Linked DNA regions of Homo sapiens: region 2 is linked to region 1. The links are contacts of gene promoters, found by promoter capture Hi-C in human tissues and cell types (Jung and others, 2019). All regions are on one chromosome and are shown on one strand. The core of a region is centred on a gene start or on the middle of the fragment in contact, and the rest is flanking DNA. Distances in the headings are between cores, read along the strand shown. Region 1 holds the start of TTC7B (tetratricopeptide repeat domain 7B). Region 2 overlaps DGLUCY (D-glutamate cyclase).

The links. Contacts are between HindIII fragments. The study calls those that stand out against the background at their distance.
Region 2: a fragment that was not itself captured here is called in contact with the fragment with the promoter of TTC7B in region 1 in 1 of the 25 tissues and cell types used here (liver).

Annotation. Positions count from the first base shown.
Region 1 is chr14:90,813,410-90,820,921 of GRCh38, forward strand. TTC7B (tetratricopeptide repeat domain 7B) reads right to left here and starts at 3,021. Exons shown (of 20, transcript NM_001010854.2): 1 at 2,766-3,021. The coding sequence starts at 2,886. It overlaps LINC02321 (long intergenic non-protein coding RNA 2321), which reads right to left. Exons shown (of 4, transcript NR_184259.1): 4 at 6,664-6,956. RefSeq lists a silencer at 3,015-3,194. The HindIII fragment of the contact is 18,929 bases long and covers 1-7,512 here.
Region 2 is chr14:91,115,135-91,122,646 of GRCh38, forward strand. The region is part of intron 1 of DGLUCY (D-glutamate cyclase); the gene reads left to right. Among named protein-coding and RNA genes, the nearest start is that of DGLUCY, 4.8 kb to the left of the region's middle. RefSeq lists enhancers at 1,239-1,740, 4,211-5,410. The HindIII fragment of the contact is 3,189 bases long and covers 1-2,845 here.

The DNA of each region.
Region 1 (7,512 bases), core at 1,771-4,270:
CCAGTGCCTAAAACAGTGGCTAGCACAGAGCAGGTACTCAATCTTTGTGGAAGGAAGGAAGGAATGAGTGGCTGGCCCTGAGAGACATTAGCTACTTTAACCCTCATAACAACCCCTGCAAGGTAAGTCATTTAAATCCCGTTCTAAAATGAGAAAACTGAGGCTCAGAGTGGTTAAGTGATTTGGCCAATGTCACAAAGTCAAGAAGTGGCCAAGGTCACAAGAATCAGTCCCCCATCTGGCTGGCTCCAAACACTGTATTCTTTTTTTTTTTTTTTCGCCTGTGGTTGTTTTCATGGTAACTGTCTTAGTGTGACAAACGTGACATTCACTTGCTTTCCTTATTCTAAGCAGAAGATGCTTTAACTTCAGGATTTTGCAAAATCTGCCCAGAACTTGTGCTCATGCACCCGAGAATCTATGGGGGAGCCGGTGCCCCCAAAAGCCAGGAAGAAGTCCCTCTACCAGCCCGAGAGTGGGAAGGCCTCACCAGTCAAACGGAGGGAAGGCCCCTCTTGCAAACACCAAAGGAGAGCCACAATCATTCTAGTTTAGTTTCATCTTTTTCTTGGCTTCATCGTTTTATTTTCCTGAGCACTCACTCTGTCTGATCTTTTCAAGTCCGGGTAACTTTTTGCCATCAATGGCTACCACTCACCATGTGAGTCTCTAGGACAAAAATCTATGTCCCATGAGTTTCCCCAAACTGAACTTGCACACAGACCCATGGACCACAGTGCCCCCGCAAACCCCGATCCCCAAGCCCCACTCATGACTGCATCTTAGGACATTGGGAGCAGCCCCTGGGAAGAGAGCTAAGCCTTTCGGGGGCCATGAAGGTGAATAGGAAGGGCCCAGGCCACCAAAAACCCATCTACCCTCTCATTCCAGGGACCATCATAGCTTGAGTCCCCCTTCATCTGCCTGTCATTCTCAATCACATTAACTCATCTGTTTTGTTTCAATCACTTCTCACTATCTGAAGCTGTGCTGTTTATTTATTTCCATATTTGCTTATCACCTGCCTCCTGAGAGCAGGGTGAGGGCATAAGGGCAGGGGCTTGGTCAGTGCTGTTCACCACTGTTCTGTGACTGGCACAGGTGGGCACGCAAATATTGGGTGAATGAATAAGCAAAGACAGCAGGAAACAAGTGGATTCAGAAGAAAAAAGACCAGGAGGCTCACAAATAAACCCATTTAATCCTAAAATCAACCTGCACAGAAGGTGTCATTATGCCTACACCGCTGGGAAGCCACAAAGTAGACCCAGGACTGTGCAACTCCGAGAGGAAAAGAGAAAATGCTGCAGGTAAGCGGAGAAGCAGGTGAGCCCGACACGGAGGGCAAAGGCAAGCTGCCTCTGGGGCCCAGGGCACTGAACACCATCTCCTCAAAGGCTGACATAACTGAGAAGGGTCCACATTTTCCACCAAGTGGAGCCCGTGTAGGGTCGGTGCTATCTCCATGCCCCTGACACACCATGGCACCTGCGTTCACCCAGAAGGTACCTGCCCACAGCATGCATCCATCATTGAGAGTGCGCAAAACCAAGTTCTAATTTCCAGGCACTAATACCATAGGACACAAACATAAACCACCCTCCAGGAGGACACCTGACATCCCTCTCCTTTCTGGGTAGTCTGAAGTGAGAAGGTTGAAAATAGTGCAGATGTCCTTTCTTAGAGCAGCCCCGCCATCCATTCATTCACTCTTTCATTCATTTGTTCAGCCAACATGTGCTCACTGGGCCTGGGGAAGCCCAGGATGAAATGAGACAAACCCTCTGCCCTCTGGCCACGGTGTGCTGGTGCCTGCGCTTTAGGCGGGTACTAAAAGACAAGCAAATATTAAAGATACTCGCTTCCAAAACAAATAAGGCCACGTGGAGCTGTGCACTGGAATGGGATTCTGGATGCAATTTTATTTGATTGGGTACAAGAACCAATCCAGTTAAAGGGGTCATGAACCAACTCCAGGCACCAGGCTCCTACTCAGAGGCTGCCTCAGACCCCCTTCTGGCCCAGGCACCAACCCCTCACCCACCCAACTCCATCTCCCGACATTCTTCAACCACATTCCCATCTCGCTCCACAATATTCTCCCTCCAGGTCCCCCTGACTCTATTTCTCCTCTATTCCCAACCCTGACCTCTCTAGGTCGGCAGCCTTGATGCTACTTCTCCGAACGCCAGGACGCACATCCCAGCCTGCTTTCTACCACCACCCCACACACCTCGAGTCTGCGCTTCCACCCAGAACCCCTTAAACACCATATGTTTACAAACCAGATTCCCCAGGGGTCTATGTACAACACCCCATTCTCAAGACCCCATAAACACATCCTGATTCCCTGAGCACACCATACACACACTGTGGACTTCACCCATGTCCTGAGGGACCCCCTCACCCCATCACCTCCAACTTCTTGGAAGCCCCAGGCCGGCCCCTGACCTCCTGTGGTCCCAGTGGAGCAGCGGACTCGCTGAGACCCCCGGACACCCCAGACTCCGCAGAAGCCCGCCCTGCACGCTTGAACCCCAGGCGCCGGGACAGCCCCTGGCGCCCCCCCGGGCCCCCACACCGCGTGACTCCGGGGCACCCGGGCTCCCCCAGGCCCCGGTCCCGCGCACATCCCCTGGGCCGCAGCTCCCTCGCGGCCCGGCCGCGCCCCTGCCCGCGCCCCGCGCCCGGCCGCGCCTCGGGGGCCCGTTCCCGCGGAGGCCGCGGCGCCCCCCGCAGCCCAGGCCGGCGCGCCCGGAGCGTACCGTTGGCGATGAGCTTGGCCGACAGCTGCTTGACGAGCTCAGGGATCCGCTCCCACTGGCACTCGGAGCGGCAGCGCTCGATCTCCGTCTCCAGCCGCGAGCCTGCCTTCTTGGTCGCCATCGCGGCCTGGCCGGGCCCGGCCGCCCGCCCCGCAGGCCCCACCGCCGCCGCCGCGGCGCCCCCTCGCCGCCTCCCGCCGCCGCCGCGGGCTCGGGCTCCGGCTCCCGGCTCCGCGGCGTAACGGGAGCGCCGGCTGGGGAAGGGGCGGGGAGGCGGGCGGCGGCGGCGGGCGCGGCGGGGCCCCGGGCGCCGCGAGGAGCGGCCCCTGCCGGCCAGGGCCGGAGCCGCAGCACTGACCGGGGCCGGAGCCAGGGCTGGGGCAGGGGCGGGGGCTAGGGCGGGAGACAGGGGCCCGAGGGAGGAAAGGCGGGGTGGGCATGGAGGACAGGGAGAGGGACTGGGGGTGTCTGGGGCGGGGTGAAGACCGAGGGGAAGTGGGGATGGGGGTGGGGGAGCGGGGTAGGAGAGAGATCTGACCAAGGGCGGGTGAGGGGTCTGGTGGGGTAGGGGTCTGGGCAGGATGAAGGGGAGGGAGAGGATCGGGAGGGAGCTAGCGACAGCCTGGGAGCGGGTTGGATCCCCAGGAGTAGGGCCAAGAAAGGGCAGTGACCCTGGGGAAGGTCACCGCCCGGTGGGACCAGTGAGCCAGGTGTGAGGGGTGGGGGGAGGCCTGCCCGAGTTTGTCCTGCCATCTCAGGTGGCCAGCGGTTCCCTGGGGCCCGGTTGGCCTGTGCCCCTTAGCAGATGCCCCTCTGCCCCGCAGCCTTAGCCCCTACCCAGCCAGAGGTGGACGGAGACTCCTCCATCCCAGGCAAGGCACAGCACCTGCCAGGGGTGCCCTAGATGGCTGAGCGGAGCCAGGCAGGGGCTGCCACTCTCACACGCCAGCTCTCGGACCCCCTGAGGGGAAGGCACAGTCACTGGTGGGGCCTCCTGTCTTGGCCACCTAGACTGAGACCTAGGGAGGTGTCCCTCTGTGTTCTCTCAGTGAATCAACTGTCTAGTGATCACCTACTATGTGCTGGGCGCTGCTTTAGGTGCCAGAGATAGAATTGTGAGCTAAAAAAACAAAATTCCTGGCTTGAGAGAGCTTACATTCCAGTTTGGGGGAAAAATAAGCAAAATAAAATAGTAAACTAGACTGTAAAAATGGCTATTTGAAGAAACAGGGAAGGGTTCAGTGAGGAACATAAAGAGTTGGGACAGGCGGGTGGCTCATGCCTGTAATCCCAGCTACTCAGGAGGCTGAGGCAGGATGATTGCTTGAGCCCAGAAGGTGGAGGCTGCAGTGAGCAGTGAACGCACTTCAGCCTGAGCAAGTGTTGCCATTTAAAATGGAGCAGTCAGGGATGGCCTCACGGAGGTGGCATTAGACTTGAAGAAACTAAGGGGGAGCCATGAGGATATCTCTGGGGGAGGAGTATCCCAGGCAGAGAACACCACAAGTGCGAAGGCTCTGGGGTTAGAGCACACTGGGTGGGATGGAGAAATGGCAGAGGCCAGAGGGGCTGGGTGGAGCGAAGGAGAGGGGCCGAGGCAGGAGATGAACTCTGAGAGGTTGGGGGGAGTTCTGTGTAGTGCCTGGTGGGCCATTATAAGACCTTGGCTTTTGGCTGGGCACGGTGGCTCACGCCTGTAATCCCAGCACTTTGGGAGGCCGAGGTGGGCGGATCACGAGGTCAGAAGATCGAGACCGTCCTAGCTAACATGGTGAAACCCGTCTCTACTAAAAATATTTTTAAAAATTAGCCGGGCGTGGTGGCAGGCGCCTGTAGTCCCAGCTGCTGGGGAGGCTGAGGCAGGAGAATGGTGTGAACCCGGGAGGCGGAGTTTGCAGTGAGCTGAGATGGCAGCACTGCACTCCAGCCTGGGCAACAGAGAGAGACTCCGTCTCAAAAAAAAAAAAAAAAACTTTGACTTTTACTCTGGTGACATGGAGCAGCCCTGCAGGGCTTTTCACGGAAGAGTGGCATGATCAGACCTACACTTTGGACTATCACTGTGACTGCAGTGTTGAGAATACTGCCAGGGAAATAGCTGTGGTGGTGGCAGTGTTGGATTCTGGGTCCTGCATTTGAGAGTGAAGCGGTCAGTCTGGAAGGTTCCGTAGCCCGCCCGCAGTCACAAGGAGGCACTGAGGGGTCGTCGTCATTCCTTCTGGGTGCCCTTACTCCAACTTTCCAAGAGCAGTCACACGCAGGTTCTTATCCCCACCACAACTCCCCCACCACCGGAGTTGATGAAGAACACACACTGTGGACCTCAGTTTACCAATGAGGAGGCTGAATCACAGACATTTAAGAGAGGTGAGGAGGAAAGATAAGGAGATGTGTTCTGATGTGACCAGTATCACTTTCAGGTGCCTCAGGGACTGCCAAGGTGATGGAAGTTGAGCTGACAGGCCCTGGACACTGTGAACAGCCCAGGGAAAGGGGAACTAGAACGTTAGAGTTTCAACAGGGGACCCTTTAGTGCCCTGGCCCTTAGCTCCCACCAAGAGGGAGCAGGAAGGGAAGGAGAAGAAATCTCCACAGGAGATGTTTCCTCTCTCCTGACACCCTCCTGTTCTCCCAACTCCAGTCTGCCTCTCCAGATTTGCTGGGAATGTTCTCCATCTGGACCAGGAGACAGATTCCTGTGCCTTCTTTCAGACACGGGCCAAAGGTTACTGGGCAGCCTTGCTCAACATCTGACAGACCTTGTGTGACAGCACTTGCCATCTCCCTCTGGGAAGGGGCAGGGTCTTAATCATGACTAACGCATACACTGCCTCAGTTGCCACACTGGAAGGTAAATGATGAGGGCCACCTGTCTGCCTCCCTACCTGATAAGGTGGCTTCATGAGGACGGATGCTGCCTGGGCCATGGCATTTAACATCCCCAGGCCTCCATTTCTTGGCTGTGATACCTCCCCCTGGAGCTCGTTGAGGAGGAAATGAGGAAATACAGGTAGGGCACAGAGAACAGTGCCAGCATGCCAGGCTCTGTGGCTCACGCCTGTAATCCCAGCAGTTTGGGTGGATCACGAGGTCAGAAGATCGAGACCTTTCTGGCTAACATGGTGAAACCCTGTCTCTACTAAAAATACAAAAAAATTAGCCGGGCATGGTGGTGGGCACCTGTAGTCCCAGCTACTCGGGAGGCTGAGGCAGGAGAATCGCTTGAACCCATGAGGTAGAGGTTGCATCTCCATCATGCCACTGCACTCCAGCCTGGGTGACAGAGCAAGACTCCATCTCAAAAAAAAAAACAGTGCCAGTGCACCAATAGAGTGCCATGTCGGCTGTCATTCTGTGTCTCTCTGCCCCTTGCAAGCCGCATAGGGCCTGGAACATTGTGGGAGCTTAAATGAACGAGGCTGGAGTCCCCAAGGTCTACAGCCACCTGCGAGTGCGTTTCCTTAGGATGAAACATCCCAATGATGAATCCATGTCACTACGTTCCAGGCTTCCACCGTCACGGCAGGCCACCTACAGGGGCCCAACACCAGAATATTCTTCAGACCATGTGCTTGGGCGCAGAGGTTGCTGGGTATAGGGGTTGGGAGCAGAGGCTGACAAACATTGTCAGCCTGAAGCAGGAGAGAGAAGGAACCCTCTGGGCTTCACCGTGGGAGCCTGAGAGCTGGGCCCTGTGGCCTCTGGGCTCATTTCTGCCTCTGCTTTCCATATCCTGGCCCTCATCCATGGCCCGGGCCACTCTGGCAGCTGCCACAGCAACCCTAGAGAGGTACAAGTGATCCTATGAGGACAAAGTCCCTGGATGGTTCTCCAGGTGACTTTACCTGCAGGCAGCACTCAGCTAAATTCAAGAGTAAGAAGGCATTCGTGCTCATAATAGTAATTAAGGCAGTATCTTTTCCTCTAGGCATTCAGGTAGTACAGGTTTGACAAGGATGTGGAAAATCACAGCCTATAGGCCCAATCCCACCATGGGGCCTAGGGTGCCTGGCAGGAAAGAAGTGGAGGACAGCTGGGAAAGGAGTCTGACTTCTGGCCAATTCCTTGAGAACAGCTGGGGTACCAGGAGGAGTGGAGGCAGGCTGTAGGCTCATTCCAAAGGCCAGTGCAAATAGGGGGCTTGTGTGGTCTGGAGACCTCCCAGTCCTCATCTCCGAAAGCCTGGATTCCCTGTGCAATCAGAATAAGGGAAGAGGTGAGCAGCAAGGGAGCGGGCGTGAGAGAGAAAACAGAGAGAGAGAATGAGAGAGGGATTGTGGCCAGGGTAGGATGGAGAGAGCTTAGGGGAAGGAGACACTGGTGGGAGGAGGGGTCATAACTTTGCCCTTTCTCCTCCCTCACCTGGCCTGGAAGGTTCTTCCCCAGAAACCCATGTGGTCCCTCTCTACCTTCCTTCTGAAGGCAGTGAGGGAGGTCACATCCTCACAGAGACCTTCCCCGACCACTCTGTCCACCTTTGCTCCCCCTCATTCCCTTCACCCTTACCCCCTCACCCTGCTGTAGTTTTCTTCTTGTCCCACCTGATCTATGGTTATTAACTGAGTGTGTATTATCTGCCTCCCCTCACTAGAGCAAAAGCCCCAGGAGGGCAGGGATTTGTGTGTGGTTCTGTTCACAACAGCATTTCCCAGCACTGAGAACGGTGCCTGATGCATGGTGAGTACTCAGTCAATACAGGTTGAATGAATGAATGAGCTGAAGGAAGGTGGAGGGGCTGGGATTGGGC
Region 2 (7,512 bases), core at 1-2,500, 300 kb after region 1:
GAGGGCAGCAGGTTGAGATTATGTTGGCAGGAAGAATGTTGGCATTGATTGGCACGCAGGGGACGAGAGCTGCTTTGTGCTTTAAAGGTAACTGAGTATGAGCTAAAAAGAAGGAAAGGAGAGGCCGAGAGTAGGAAGAAGAAAGAAAGCTGACTTGGCTGGAGGGGTGGAGTGAAGCTGAGGAAGCAGGAAGGGGAAGGAGGTGATGGGTGGGAAGGGCAGGGCAGGGTGGAGTTAACTGAAAGAAGGCTAAACTGTGGCTTGTACATAATTATGAGGAAGCACCTTTTTTTCCCCCCTTCATTTTGAGACGGAGTCTTGCTGTGTCGCCCAGGCTGGAGTGCAGTGGTGTGATCTCAGCTCACTGCAACCTCCATCTCCTGGGTTCAGGCTATTCTCCTGCCTCAGCCTCCCAAGTAGCAGGGACTACAGGCACATGCCACCAGGTCTGGCTAATTTTTGTAGTTTTAGCAGAGACAGGGTTTTGCCATGTTAGCCAGGCTGAGCTCAAGCCATCCATCCGGCCTGGCCTCCCAAAGTGCTGGGATTATAGGCGTGAGCCACCACACCTAGCCAGGAAGCATCTTAAAAGAGTCAGATGTCACTTCCAGCTGAGGGCTAGATCCCCGGAGGCCAACTGGTGGCCCCTGACATGTTTTATTTGTAAGAGTGAGGACTCTTGGAAATTTGGAAAATTTCACGCGTTGTGAAAGAATGGGCTCACGTTTCCGCAGCTCGGCTGGCGCTGTAGCTGCTGGTTTGCCAAAGTCCCCACCTCTCCTGCACTGAGCTTTGCATTCCTTGACCCACCCCAAAACTTCTGTACCTGCCTGGTTCCTGTGGGCAATGCAGATTGCTGCTCCTTCTGGTTTGATAATAATGATTCTCGTCCAAGTGCACAGGTATATGCTCTTTCAATTAATTTCAATTAATATCTCCCTTTTTCAGTGGAGCATGGCAGATACACAAAACCAACCCTCTCCTTGACAGATTTCTCAGCCTTTCCAGGCGATCTGCCAAGTTGCTAGAGGGTATTTGCATTAAAAAAAAAAGTTTATTTTCTTATTTTGGGTTTAAGGATTTTCCAACCTGCCTTAAGGCAATATTTCATTTATGCCACACTTTACAGCTTTCAAAGCATTTCTTAAACAGACTTGAATTTGTTTTATCCTTCCAGAAGCTCCATGAAGTCTGTAATTTGGATCTCCTCATGCTGTCTTGGAGGAAACAGAATTGTAGAGAAACTAAATGACTGCCCTTGGTCCTTCAGTAATGTTGAGGTTCACATTCAGGCACAGCTCTCTGGAAGACCAAGCTGTGTCTTTTTGACTGTGTGAAATTGTAAAAAGTTATGCTTTGAAAAGCATAGTGACTGAAAGTATGATCTCAATCCAGAATACTTGTGTTACCAGAAAGGGGCCTCAAACCAGACCCCGAGAGTGTTCTTGGACCTTGTGCAAGAAGCAACTGGGGGCAAGTTCATAGCAAAGTGGAAGTGAAAGCAAGTTTATTAAGAAAGTAAAGGAATAGGCCGGGCGTGGTGGCTCATGCCTGAAATCCCAGCACTTTGGGAGGCCAAGGCAGACAGATCACAAGGTTAGGAGATCAAGACCATCCTGGCCAACATAGTGAAACCCCATCTCTATTAAAAATACAAAAATTAGCTGGGTGTGGTGGTATGCACCTGTAATCCCAGCTATTTGGGAGGCTGAGGCAGGAGAATTGCTTGAACCCAGGAGGCAGAGGTTGCAGTGAGCCGAAATCGCCCCACTGCACTCCAGCCTGGCGACAGAGTGAGAGTCTGTCTCAAAAAAAAAAAAAGAACGGCTACTCCATAGGTAGAGCAGTGGCATGGGCTGCTCGACTGAGTATACTTAACGGTTATTTATTGATTATGTGCTAAACAAGGGATGGATTATTCATGAGTGTTCCAGGAAACGGGTGGGCAATTCCTGGAACTGAGGGTTTCTCTCCTCTTTACACAAAATAAGGTAATTTCCAGACATTGTCATGGCATTTGTAAACTGTCATGGTGCTGGTGGGAGTGTCTTTTGCATGCTAATGCATTATGGTTAGTGTATAATAAGCAGTGAGGACGACCAGAGGTCACTTTCATTGCTATCTTGGTTTTGGCTGGTTTCTTTACCACAAAGTGTTTTATCAGCAGGGTCTTTGTGACCTGTATCTTGTGCCTACCTCCTATCTCATCCTGTGACTAGGAATGCCTAAGTTCCTGGGAATGCAGCCCAGTAAGTCTCAGCCTTATTTTACCCAGCCCCTGTTCGAGATGGAGTGGCTCTGGTTTGAAAGCCTCTGACACTTGGGCTTGACTGCTGGTTTGGCCACTCAATACCTATGAGTCTTTAGGCAAAGTACTGAATCATCCTGTGCTTCCTTTTCTGTAAAATAGGGATAACAGCCCTCATCTAGGGAGTGTTGTATGGATTAAATGACATAGTACATGAAAAGTGTTTAGAACAATGCCTGGCACAGAGTAAGCTTTTGTTCACATACACACACACACACATACACACACACACACACACACACACGCCAAACTGTAAAATATTTGAAGAGACTTATTCTGAGGCAAACATGAGGACCCTGGAGGTCCTGAGAACATGTGCCTGACATGGTTGGGATACAGCTTGGTTTTATGCAGTTTAGGAAGACATAGACATCAATCAATACATGTGAAGTACACATTGGTTTGATTGATTCAGTCCAGAATTGAGGTATTCAGGTCATAGGTAGATTCAAAGATTTCCCAATTGGTAATTAGTTAAATGAGTTAAGCTTTGCCTAAAGTTGAAGTTAGCAGGAAGAAATGCTTGGATTCAAGATAAAAGGGGTTGTGGAAGCCAAGGGCCAAGGTTCTTGTTATGTAGATGAAGCTTCCAGGTAGCAGACTTCAGAGAGAATGGATGGTAAATTCTCCCCGCCCCCCCCCCCCCTTTTTTTTTTTAGACGGAGTCTCACTCTGTTGTCCAGGCTAGAGTACAGTGGGATGATCTTGGCTCACTGCACCCTCCACCTCCTGGGTTCAAGCGATTCACCTCCTTCAGCCTCCCAAGTAGCTGGGATTACAGGCACCACCACCCCCACCACGCCTGGCTAATTTTTGTATTTTTAGATTTTTAGTAGAGCCAGGGTTTCACCATGTTGGCCACATTGGTCTTGAACTCCTGACCTCCAAGTGATCCACCTGCCTCGGCCTCCTGAAGTGCTGGGGTTACAGGTGAATCTCTCTTATCAGGCCTTAAAAGGTGCCAGACTCTTCATAACTCTCTTCAAGGTGGGAGGACTTGGAAGGGGAAAGAGCTAGTTAATAGATTTACAGATACAAAAAGCAGTTTCAAAATATGGTGAAGAAACATATTTGGGGGTAAGATATTTTGATTTCCTTCTTTATCTGTCATTTGATAGAGTCAGGTTGGAATTTGGTATCTTATGGCTACAAAGAGTCTCTTTTATCTGTCTTAAGATCTCTGTTTTAATGTTAATGCTGGTCAGTTGTATCTAAACTCCCAAGTGGTGGGGGATAATGAGGCATGTTCAGCCATTCACCTCCCATCATGGCCTGGACTAGTATTTCAGGTTTCTTTGGAATGCCCTTGGCTGAAAGGGGGTCCATTCAATTGGTTGAAGGGCTTAGAATTTTACTTTTGGTTTATACTTTCAAGAAATATTCCTATCAGTGGGGCCAGGCACGGTGGCTCATGCCTGTAATCCCAGCACTTTGTGAGGCCAAGGAAGGAGGATTGCTTGAACTTGGGAGTTCGAAACCAGCCTGGGCAACATAGTGAGACCCTAAAAAGTCTACCTAAAAAGTTAAAAAAAATTTTTTTAAATTATACTACTACTACTAAAATTATTATTATCTGTGCCTTTGGGAGATACTCTGTATTAGTTAGGGTACAGGCTAAATTGTAAAAAAGATCCCAAAATACATTTGCTCAAAAAGGGTAGAAGATTTTTCCTCTTTCACATAATAGCTAAGAGGTAAATGGTCAGTCCAGGACAGGCAAACAACTCTGCTCCACAGGGTCATTCAGGAACCCAGCTTCCTCCATCTTGTTGCTCCCTTTTCTGCATAGTCAAAAGTGACTCAACATCACCTTCACCTTCTGTTCCTGCCTGTAGTGCGAAGAGGGGAGGAATTAGAGGGCAAACAGCTCCCTTCTAAATGATATACCTCAGAGTTGTACATATCCTTTCACTCATATTCCCTGACCCACTCTGTTTCCCTGACCAAATTTCCCAGGCTTTTCTACCTTGATCTGACCTTGTCTTTCTGGACCTTTGGTACCACTGTGCTCCCATACCTGAAGACTCTTTCTCACTGCAGTGCTACTCTTTCTAAGTTCCCACCCTACTTTGCTAGACATTTTTTTTCCATTTCCTTCAAAGAGACCTCCTGTTCCACTCACTCCCTAAATATCCTCTGGGTCTCTGTGTTCCACCCACAGCCCTTCCTGCCTTTTGCCCTCTCCCTCGGTGTGATGGCTTAATGTTGAGTGTCAACTGGATTGGATTGAAGGATGTAAAGTCTTGTTCCTGTGAGGGTGTTGCCAAAAGGAGATTAACATTTGAGTCAGTGAACTGGGAGAGGCAGACCCGCCCTCAGTCTGGGTGGGCACCATATAATCAGCTGCCAGCTCATCTAGGACAAAAGCAGGCAGAGGAACATGGAAGGACTAGACTGGCTGAGTCTTTCAGTCTTCATCTTTCTCCCGTGCTGGATGCTTCCTGCCCTCAAACATCTGACTCCAAGTTCTTCAGCTTTGGACTCTTGGACTTACACCAGTGGTTTGCCAGGGGCTCTCAGGGCTTTGGCCTGAGACTGAAGGCTGCATTGTTGGCTTCCCTACTTTTGAGGTTTTGGGACTTGGATTGGCTTCCCTGCTCCTCGGCTTGCAGACAGCCTATTGTGGGACTTAACCTTGTGATGGTGTGAGTCAATACTCCTTAATAAACTCCTCGTCATGTTAGTCCTGTCCCATCTAGAGAACCCTGACTAATACACTTAGTGTCCTCAGCCACGCAAAAGCTGATGACTCGCAGCTCTCCCTCCTCCGGGCAGGTGTCCTTCCTGACTTCTGGTGCTGAATGTCCACCCTGTCATGGACCTCTGCCTGGGGCTGTCTCACAGGCTCCTCCTACTTAGCATTCTAAAACCAAATTCCTCATCAGTCTCTTCTTGTATTTATTTTCATGAATGGCACAGTTAGCTAGTTGCCCATCCCAGGAAAAAGAAATCTGATAATTATTATTATTATTGTTTTTTGAGATGGAGTTTCACTCTTGTCACCCAGGCTGCAGTGCAATCACGCTATCTCAGCTCACTGCAACCTGCAGCCTCTACCTCCTGGGTCCAAGCCATTCTCCTGCCTCAGCCTCCTGAGTAGCAGGGATTACAGGCACCCACCACCGCGCCTGGCTAATTTTTGTATTTTTAGTAGAGACAGCATTTCACCATGTTGGCCAGGCTGGTCTTGAACTCTGTCCTCAGGTGAGCCACCTGCCTCAGCCTCCCAAAGTGCTGGGATTACAGGCATGAGCCACCCCACCTGGCCCTGATAATTATTTGTGATTCCTTTCTTTCGTTGCACCTTTTGCATACATTCAATCAGGTATCAGGTTCTGGCAAGTCTACCTCTTCCAGTTCCTCAAATCAGCCCTTCCTCTCATTCTCTCACTTTGGGGAAAGCCTGGATTGCTTCTCAAATACTTACGACAGAGGGTCTCTGAGGGATGTTCTTCTTCACATTCATCCTCCACCAAGTGCTGCCTGTTCAGGGGATCCTCCTACCCTTAGTGCTCCTGGGGCTCTTAGATGAAGCTCATACTCCTTCAGGTTATGCACATGCTCCCTCCCAAGCATCTCTTTGTCTATCTTCCCAGCCCCTCTCCCTCTTTACCCCAGGTGTGCCAACCACTCACACTGTCACCTACAGAGACTTCTTCAGCCTTTCTCCTAGTGCTGATTTCCAGCTGTCTGTCAAAGCTCATGCAATGTCTCCCAGGCCATACCTGCCTGACACTGTCAACACAGTTTTCCTTGCCTCTTCCTCATTAGCAGCTCCAGTGCTTAAGCACATTTCCCGACACACAGAAAGTGCTCTGTAAATGGCAAAAGAGTGAACTGTATGGCTCTTTCCATGTCCTACTCCACCTCCAATCATGCTACCTGCTCTGTACCTAAGCTTCTGAGAAGACCCTCCTCTCCTGTGGGGATGTCTGTAACTCTTTCTTCAAGAAATAATATTTTTGGCTGGGCGCAGTGGCTCACGCCTGTAATCTCAGCACGTTGGGAGGCCGAGGTGGGTGGATCACCTGAAATCAGGAGTTCGAGACCAGCCTGGCCAACATGGTGAAACCCTATCTCTACTAAAAATACAAAAATTAGCCAGATGTGGTGGCGATCGCGCCACTGCACTCCAGCCTGGGTGACAGAGTGAGACTCCATCTCAAAAATAATAATAATAATAATAATAATAATAATAATAATAATAATAATTTCAAGAACAAACTCAACTAATGTCTTCAGTGAAGGCTTCTCCTACTTCCCCAGCCAGATTTTCATTATTTATCTATCATCAAGTATTTTTAAAATGCCTATAGTGTGCCAGGCACTGTTCAGTATACTGGGGATAGAGCAGGGGGAAAAAAATGACAAAAACCCCTACCCTTAAGAGGTTCACAGTATAGCATGGGGAATTAGAAGTAAGCATCTGTCTCTTCTCTGGTCTTTAAGCACCTCACAGGCACTGGCCATGTCTGCTCATCTGTTTATTCCCATCATCTAACAGAGTGCTCAACACATTTGCTTGATGAATACGTTTTGAGCACTGGGAGATGATCACAGAAGAGCTAAGAAGTGATAGCAGTTGTATTTAGTGGAGAACAGTATTCACACCTTGTTGTCTAGATTGCCTTGAAATCAGGCTCTGTATGATATCTTTTTTTTTTCTCTTAGAAAAAACTGTTAACCTATTTAGAGTAATTTTATTAAGGAGCTTTTTATTTTTTTATTTTTTTTTTTGAGACAGGGTCCCACCCTGTTCCCCAGGCTGGAGTGCAGTGGTTCAACAACCACAGCTCACTTCAGCCTTGACCTCCCGGGCTCCCACCTCAGTCTCCTGAGTAGCTGGGAACACAGGTACGTGCCACCCTGCCCAGCTAATTTTTTATTTTTTGTAGAGATGGGGTTCCACTGTGTTGCACAGGCTGGTCTCAAACTTCTGGGCTCAGTCAATCCTCCCGCCTTGGCCTCCCAAAGTGTTAGGATTACAGGCGTGAGCCATTGTACCTTTAAAAGAAAAAAAGAAAGATTTTTTTTATTTTAAATTAAAAATTATGACATTGCATATCACTGTGAGTGTATTTAATGTTACTGAATTGTACACTTTAAAATGATTAAGATGGTCAATGTTATGTGTATTTTAACTATAATAAAAGAAAAAAGTTTTTTTTTTTTTTTTTTGAGATAGAGTCTCACTCTGTCGCCCA